Linked DNA regions of Homo sapiens: regions 2 and 3 are each linked to region 1. The links are contacts of gene promoters, found by promoter capture Hi-C in human tissues and cell types (Jung and others, 2019). All regions are on one chromosome and are shown on one strand. The core of a region is centred on a gene start or on the middle of the fragment in contact, and the rest is flanking DNA. Distances in the headings are between cores, read along the strand shown. Region 1 holds the start of SIX6 (SIX homeobox 6). Region 2 overlaps SLC38A6 (solute carrier family 38 member 6). Region 3 overlaps PRKCH-AS1 (PRKCH antisense RNA 1).

Evidence for each region. Contacts are between HindIII fragments. The study calls those that stand out against the background at their distance.
Region 2: a fragment that was not itself captured here is called in contact with the fragment with the promoter of SIX6 in region 1 in 1 of the 25 tissues and cell types used here (spleen).
Region 3: a contact is called between a fragment that was not itself captured here and the fragment with the promoter of SIX6 in region 1, in 1 of the 25 tissues and cell types used here (dorsolateral prefrontal cortex).

What each region holds. Positions count from the first base shown.
Region 1 is chr14:60,507,786-60,510,520 of GRCh38, reverse strand. SIX6 (SIX homeobox 6) reads right to left here and starts at 1,375. Exons shown (of 2, transcript NM_007374.3): 1 at 551-1,375. The coding sequence starts at 1,122. It also overlaps a transcript of C14orf39 not described here. The HindIII fragment of the contact is 5,424 bases long and covers 1-2,735 here.
Region 2 is chr14:61,027,870-61,030,742 of GRCh38, reverse strand. It overlaps SLC38A6 (solute carrier family 38 member 6), which reads right to left. Exons shown (of 16, transcript NM_153811.3): 6 at 220-298. Among named protein-coding and RNA genes, the nearest start is that of SLC38A6, 48 kb to the right of the region's middle. The HindIII fragment of the contact is 3,792 bases long and covers 1-2,873 here.
Region 3 is chr14:61,294,325-61,297,366 of GRCh38, reverse strand. It overlaps PRKCH-AS1 (PRKCH antisense RNA 1), which reads left to right. Exons shown (of 5, transcript NR_186042.1): 5 at 1,637-2,667. It also overlaps a transcript of PRKCH not described here. Among named protein-coding and RNA genes, the nearest start is that of TMEM30B, 15 kb to the right of the region's middle. The HindIII fragment of the contact is 3,903 bases long and covers 1-3,042 here.

The sequences.
Region 1 (2,735 bases), core at 126-2,625:
CCCACGGACTAGTTTGCTGTTTTGAGACAAGAGTGGCAGGCAGCGCATGGGAAGAGGAAAACTCGACTTCCCATTTCTCAAAAGTCCATTGAAAACTGTTTTCAAAGCATTAGGGAGGGATATACCTGGGCTTTGAAAATGATAATTAACATGAAACCGACACATTGCTAATAAGCCAGGCTTCGATTAATAGTAGGAGCCTGTGCCCAGGCTGACAAGAATTAGCTTTGGGTCTTGGGGTCCCTAACTGTTTGTAGGATTTTAATTTTTTATTTCTCTTCCCCTCTCCGTCCCAGTGAAGCCTTGGTTTGGTGACCGGGACCAGCTGCTGCAGCTGCCCGCAGGCGTGGGGAGCCAGCGGGTGGGGAAGCAGAGCCGGCAAGGGAACTCCCGGCCAGGAGCCCAGAACGCAGGGCTCTTAACCCAAGACAGACCGCGCTCCCAACTCCTGCTGAATTGGAGTCGCCAGGGACTGGGTAAGGGCGCCAGAGGTGCCTCCACCCGCCTCCTCCCCGGTGCGCTCAAAGCGCGGAGGCCTCTAGGTACCGACCTGTTCTTGGCTGCAGCCGCTCGGTCCCTTTGTCGGCGGTTTTTGAACCAGTTGCCCACCTGCGTAGGGGTCAGTCCGGTTGCCTGGGCGAGCTCACGTTTTTTGCTGGGGTTAGGGTATGGATCCTGCAGGTACCACTCGCGTAGCAGGTGCCGCGTGCGCTCCTTGAAGCAGTGTGTCTTCTGTTCGCCGTCCCAAATGGTGCGCGGCAGCGGGAACTTCTTCCTTACTCGGTACTTGTCCACAGGTCCCAGGGGTCTTCCACGCAGCTTCTCAGCCTCCTGGTAGTGTGCTTCAAGCCACAGCGCCTGCAGCTTGGCGTGCGACTCCTTGGTGAACTTGTGGTTTTCCAGGATATGATAGAGCTCGCGGTAGTTGCCACCGTGAAAGGCCACGATGGCTCGTGCGCGTAGCACCGACTCATTCTTGTTGAGGGCCTCGCAGGCCGCAGGGGCCACGGGCAGCGACCAGAGGAAGCGACCCAGGCGCTCCACATCGCCGCTCTCTTCCAGGGTCTCACATACCCCGGCCACTTGCTGGGGGCTGAAATTCAAGATGGGCAGCTGGAACATCGAGGCAGTGCCGGCGGCGGCGAGGGCACTGAGCCCGGAGCGGGACACGCAGCAGATGCCCGCGGGCCTGGCTGAGTGTGCCAGGCGCTTGTTGATGAGGCGGATTGGGGCAGCGGGACACACTACCGGGTGGCGGCGGTGGCTCAACGGCCGGGAGCGGACGACCCCGACTGGAGGAGGTGCTGGCTCCGCGGCTTGGGGTTCGGGCTCGGCTCGGCTCAGGCACGCCGGCAGGCGAGCTGGCTCCGCTATTGGGGTGGGCGGATTGGCGGCGCGGGCGCCATGGAGACCCCCTGTCAGTCACCGGGTGGCTCTGCCAATCAAAGCTTGAATCAGCACGCCAGGACTATTTCAGCACCTCCCCGTGCTCGACAGCGCCCGCCGTTAGCTCCTGGACTTTTCTTCAGTATTTTGCAGAACCTGGAGGTTGAAAAGACATGCGAGTGTCTGGGAGAAAAAGAGAGGCGAGTGCGGCAGCGTTCACTACTCCTCCCTCCCCCACCCCGCTCTACCCCTCCCTCCCTTTTTCCCACCAAATAGGCAGTGATGCCACAGGAATTCAGGAATTCACTTTGGGGCGATGCGTTGTCTCGGTCGAGAGGTCTCCAGAGGACAAAGAGGACTGGGCCAAACTGAAATGCTCCGAGAATTCGCAAGTTTAGTTGTAACGAAACAGCAAACCTTGCGGTGGGAGCAGGAAGCCGGTGGGGGGAAGCGATCTTCTCATTTTTCCCAAGTACCCATCTCTGCATGCCTCCCTCTTCCCCTTTCCAGTTGCCAAAGCAGCTGAGTGGGAAGCAAATCTGGAGCAGCAGGAACAGGACCAGGGATCTGTAGAAGAGGTCAGTTTGAACTCTAGCCTTACTCCCTTCAAAGCCCACTAAAATAATTTTAAATGCCAACAAGGACATGTTCACGTCTGATAACGCAGATGCAGACCACGAAGTCAGACACTTTAAGAAAAGAAGGGTGGGCTGTAGGGACCTCCAAATAAAGGGGGAGAAATATACTTTCTCCCCCTCCCCCAGTTTAATGGACTTGAACAAAGTGCAGCATAGCCACATCTAGAGCCGAGAAGTCATTGGTAGGTCAGGACAGCAACTTAAAAGCTTATTTCCTAGATCTTTTTTAAAATATCGACTTAACTCCTTTCCTTGTAGGCTTATTTTGCCCCTACCTTGTGTTAGAACTTATACCTCTTGAGCTGGGGATAACAACTCTAACCTTGGCATTTTAGCTCAAAAACAATTCAGTAAAAATACAATACAGAAGGGCATCCACGACAATGCGGGGGCCCAGAAAGCACTTCCTAAGCCGCTGATTATTGACCCCTCCTGTAGTGAGGAAGGAGTGGCTTGGTGGCTCTGACTTTGGGCTAGTGGAGTGAATTGGCAACTTTTATTGATTCCCAATTGGCAGTCCACATCATACCATTTTCTGAGGCCTGGGTCAAAGAAACCATGATCTCATCTGGGCCTGTGGTAGGGGTTTGTTTAGTTTGAAGAAAATAACTGGTAGGGGGCTGTATAACAAAAACGCCAGGAAAACCGTTTTGGGGAGGTCCATCCCTAGACAGAAATCAGGTGAGAACGTTCACAGCCGAACTGGACTGG
Region 2 (2,873 bases), core at 255-2,754, 520 kb before region 1:
TTCATATGGTTCACAGAACAGCGCTTTCATATGGGTAATCAAACATTGGCTGAGTAGTTTCTATTCTATTACTGCTTCACTTCTGCCTAATTTGTAACTGTCTTGAGGGCAAGGACTACATTTATTTTACCTGCCACTACAAGTATTGCCATTTACAGCTTAATACATATTTATCAAATTAATACATGAACGGACACAATGTAAAATACTTTTTCTTACCTACTATAGTCTCCAGTCAAAAATTCTGCAATAGCAGCAGGAAGCTCTGTTTTAATAATTAAAAGATAAGATGACATAGCTGCAAAAGAATAAATAGTGTTCCTATTAGAATTCTATGATTCTTAACCATTTAAACAATAATCCATCTAGGAAAAGAGATGTCCATTAGAGCTATGACAACATATGGAAGATTAACATATAACACACTATACCAAAGATACATACACACACACACACACACACACACACACACACACACAGAAAAGTAACTGTAGAGAAGAATAACAATTGTTAAGTTCATTAAGTATCTTTTGTTTACATTTCAAGTCCAAAGCAAACTAGGTAAGAGAAACAGTCTTGATTACAGGCTACTTTTAAATGAAATTTTGTACAAAGTTTTACAAAAACTCTCTTATATGTTATCACTCCGTCTAAGGCATTAGAGGTTAGTTTAGCAACAACAGACATAGACACAGAAGTTTAATAGGTATGGCTAGTAACTGGATTATCTGTTCCTTCTTACTAGAGAAAGATGCCTCCCCACAACAGAGAAGTCTCATTCCCTCTGTCCCTTTCTTTTCCTCTCTCTACTACCCACCCCTGCATTATGAACACATATAATTATAGGATAAAAAAGAATACATAATGAATTACATTTAAAATTAGTCTCTAAAAAGATTAGAGAAAGTTCAATATAAACCATTAAATATATTAAAAAGACAAAACTTCCAACTTTTATTCCATTTTATTAACAGGGTTCATCTATATTATGTAATCATAACCTGAAGCTAGCATTATTTCTCACATTTAATCTAACAGAGTCCGATAAATAACTACCTTTTATAGCACTTTAATAACGATCCTAATTCTGATGTAGCTATAAAAACAAATTCTATAAAAATACTAGGAAAAGTTTTAATATGGTTACAGAATACAGAACTCATTCATATGTAAATACTTGAGTTTAAGCTTAAATATATAGAAACTCAGAAGATTTGTAGTCAGAACTTCAATTTAACAGAGTAAGATTCTCTTTCCTCCCAGAGATTATGTTTGTGTGTATGTGTTGGGGCCAAAAAGGAAACGCCCATGAAGAACAAAGAGTGTTTGGGAGGCCAAGGCGGGCGGTTGACGAGGTCAGGAGTTCGAGACCAGCCTGGCCAACATGGTGAAATCCTGTCTCTACTGAAAATACAAAAATTAGCCAGGCGTGGTGGCAGTTGCCTGCAATACCAGCTAACCTGGGAGGCTGAGGCAGGAGAATCGCTTGAAACTGGAAGGCGGAGGTTGCAGTGAGCCGAGACTGCACCACTGCACTTCAGCCTGGGTGAAAGAGCAAAATTCCACCTCAAAAAAAAAAAAAAAAAAGAATAAAGAGTATACTTTGTGTGCACATTAATTTTATTACTTATTTATATATCAGGAAACATTTCACTTTCTCCTTACAAAACTTACAAAAGCTAAGAACAAAAATGAAAGTCAAGTTTCAATGGCAAAAATCTGGGGAAAAATTGATTAAAAGGCTCAAATAGTTTAAGAAGAATGTATATTTCTCAATCAACATCATTTGAAAGGAGCTGAACTTCATGATTACAATGCTATGTGACCATTTAACTTGAGGAAAAAAAGGATACATGCTACTTTGCGTGTAAATTTGTATGGAGATAGATAATACTATAGACACAAAAACATACACTCTCAATTTTTTTTAGTAAAATAACATGTATTTATGTCAAAGTAAAATTTAGAACAGTTAAATAATCACTTCTCTGTGATGAAAATATACATATACATATTTTTTCAGTTTACAACGATTTCTTTTTCCCTAGCAGAAGTACAGCTATGTCTCAGTGGGTTGACTAAAATCCACTGAGACATTTCTGCAAAATCTTTTAGTTATGGGGTATTACAACTGATTGTATGTGAAAATGTGTTCTGTATTGTTCATATTCTCGTAAGGAAAAATGCTATCAATTTGGCACAGAACAGAAGGAAGGTTTAGACTAACCTTCTCCATTCAAGGATTTGGAGTTTTTATAATATTTTACCGATTCCAAAGAACTCTACACATATGGTGCAAAGATAAAAATTGTGAACTGAATTTTCTGAAACCGGCCTAGACTTACTTAAATATATCTTGTGAGAGAGACAGAAAAGAAAAAAGACAAAATACTTTGAAAACAAGGAAAGCAGACTTCCTATAAAATGTAATTTATTATCTGCCCATCTTTCTTTCTTGCTTGGATTAATCCAACACCACATGCATTTCTAAAGTTTCAGACATTCATCTCTTTCAGTAATTTTCTATTATTTCTTTTGGACCTTTAGCTGTAGAAAGCTTCAGTGAATATGAGATCCTATTTCTTTCTAATATAATATCTGTCATTCTTTCCAGAATTTCTATTAGCCCCTGGCTAATCATCTGATCACTTTTATCCTTTGTTGTACCCTCAACTCTTTGGTTTTCAAATGGGAGTACTATTTCATTAGATTCCAGTCTGAAGAATCATGTATATTTTAAGAAATATGAACTCACCAAACGTGTTTCTCTCTCAAAGAAGACCTCACATACAAGATACAAATATAATAAAACATGCAAAACATTGCTTCTTTTCTAGAGAATGTTAGTATATATTTTAAGAGTATACAACCAC
Region 3 (3,042 bases), core at 105-2,604, 790 kb before region 1:
GGGATTATTCTTGTGTCACACAGAAAGGAATAGTTTCTGTATGCAAGGTAAGTTTCATAAGACTGTGGAATTACATTCTGGATTTCTCCTTAATAAACTGTAACATTGGCAAATTTTATATGAAAAATAAAATGTTTCTACCCTGATTGAAACCATAGCATGAAAATATTAACTAATGCACGTTACTTTCTTCTGCATAGCCTAGCATTTGAATGCCAAGTGCTTTCCATATTTGAGATGCACAGTGCCATCTAATGGTCACAAACCATAAGCCAAAAGAAGAAGAAAGGGAATCAGAACTGAAATAATAATAAAATAGTAAAATCTAATACATTACAAGCTTCAAAATTGCATAGTTAACTGCCCTTGCCTACAAAAATTTTATCTTTGCCTTAGTCATTGTCATGTGAGTTACAATCATGTGAGTTACAAATGATCATATTGCATAGATAACTACAGATCACATGTTAAATTAAAATAATTCATGACAAACCTGAAACCATAACTTATATGCACTTTACAACTTTCTACTTTCACTCTTCAATCACCTGAAACTATAATACATAGGGTTCCTCATGCGTATACACTATTCCCACAGAAACAAAATCATTAGAAATACCTTGGATGAAATAATATGTTTAGGATAGTTTTTTAAAGGGAGGGTAAGATTAGGGGGATAGATAAAAGGATATTATCTTGATGTCTACAAGTTTAGCAGATGGCCAGTCTTCTGCATGGAAAATGACTATTCTAACCATTCTCCCTGCAGCCCTTCAAGACAGAGGAGATTATGGGGCTACTGAACGTATCTTGGACTTTAGAGAAAGAAAGTGAAGCTGAGCTGAGATCCATTGGTTCTATTTTGGAAAGATGCACCCCGTGGCATGACCTTCACAGCTCAGTTCTGGGGTCAAAGGAATTTTCCATTGCTCACACTGCCACCCAACTCTGGGGGCATAAGTGTGGAAGTGGTACAGCACACATGGAGAAGGGATGGGAGGAGCAGGGGTGTGTATCAGCTTAGCCGATCCCCCGAGGAGCTGCCAAGCTTGCTACCCCAAGAACAATGCCTCATAGCTCTGTGACCTCTTCAAGATTAAGGCTCTTTGATCTCAGCCCTTCTGAAGTGGTTTGAACCATATTCTATACAAAATTGGTAACTCCCCCATAAGAATTGCTTTTTAAATATCCTGCTCTATTTGAAAAAGGAATTTTAAAAATAAAGTTTACCCTTTTACTCTCTCCCAGCAAGTGAGATATTCAAAACAACAAAAATTCCTCTAACATGTTATGATGTGGAAACTGGTATTTTACTGATTTGTCTTTTCCACTTGGCTTCAAGTTCTTTGGGGAATGAAGATCATATCAATCCCTAGCCGACCGCTTCAGGCACAACTGCAAATGTTTCTTGAATGAACTTCCAGGCTTACCTGAATTCTAAGGGGGATTTCCACCATAATGGGAAAGCCACAAGAAAACCAGCAAAGGGTTTAAAAAAAAAAGGGTGAAAATATAAGTTATTTATCGGGGGTTATCACTTTATGCAGAGAGCATTCGAAACAATGATTTCCACAAATGGGCAGCAACAGTAACAGCCATACTAAGCCATTGCTTTCTTTACTTCCTCTTGGTCTAGAATATGCTGCAAAGGGAGAAGAAGGAAGACGTGTGGTATGGAATCACCTATGGATAAGGTTGAGAACCATGGGCTAGATGCTATGGAGACCAACGTATCACTTACTAGGCTTTACTTTGTGCCAGGCACTGGATTCGGCATTACCCCATTTAAGCCTCACTACCATCCTTCATGTTACTATTCCACGTTGCCGCTCAGGAGAAACAAAATTTTTTTATTAAATTCAAGTAACCTGAGGTCCCATATTTAGTAAGAGGCAGAGGAGTTAGATGTGTCAATAGCTAAATTACATGGCTGTGTCCTCTAGCTGGCCAGGGACTGACAACATCAGTATCACCTGGTGACTCTCCCAGGGGAGATGTTTTTAAAAATCTTTTCCAGTAATTCTGTGCAACATGGCAATCTGAAACCAGTCTTTCAGACCTGGAAGTTCTTTAGAGACCACAGGACTCTCTTTGATATTTTTTCTTTTGAATTTTTTTAAAATACAGAATCCTTTTTCATGTTCTCTGTTTATAAAACAACTGCATGTCAATTACATTATTTTTTAGAAGATAGGTACAAGAGCCAGGCGTGGTGGCTCATGGCTGTAATCACAACACTTTGGGAGGTCGAGGCAGGTGGATCATTTGAGGCTGGAAGTTCGAGACCAGCCTGGCCAACATGGCAAAACCTGTCTCTACTAAAAATATAAAAAATTAGCCTGGAGTAGTGGTGCATGTCCCAGCTACTCGGGAGGCTGAGGCATGAAAATCGCTTGAACCCGGGAGGTGCAGGTTGCAGTGAGCCAAGATCGCACCACTGCACTCCAGCCTGGGCAACAGAGCAAGACTGTGTCTTGACAGCAACAAAAAAAGAAGATAGGTATAGGAATTAAAAAGAAAGCAAATAATTACTGGTAGCCTGACCACTAAGAGATATATACTGATATTTTTTTTGCGGGGGGTGCATCTCCTTGCAGGCCTTTTTGTATGTTTATGTTCAAACACATTTGTAACAACAATGAATAAAAAACGCATAATATTCAATGACTTTTTATTCGGTCTTCAGTGTATTATTGATATCTTATTATGACAGTAAATAGGTCTGCAACAATATATTCAATTCTCATCTTATATTCCATCAATAAATCTACCATCACAGTTAAAAGATTTTTATTTGTGACTTGAATGAAGGGTTATATTGATCACATGCTTGGGTGACACAAGCCTAATATACTAGATATAAAGAATCAGAACATAAATAATATTAATAAATGGGAATTATGATCCTAAATCAACATAAAATTTAAATAAAAATCTAAAACTTCAACGTCAGGCATGGAGGCTCACGCCTGTAATCCCAACACTTTGGGAGGCCGAGGCGGGCAGATCACGAGGTCAGGAGATCGAGACCATCCTGGCTAA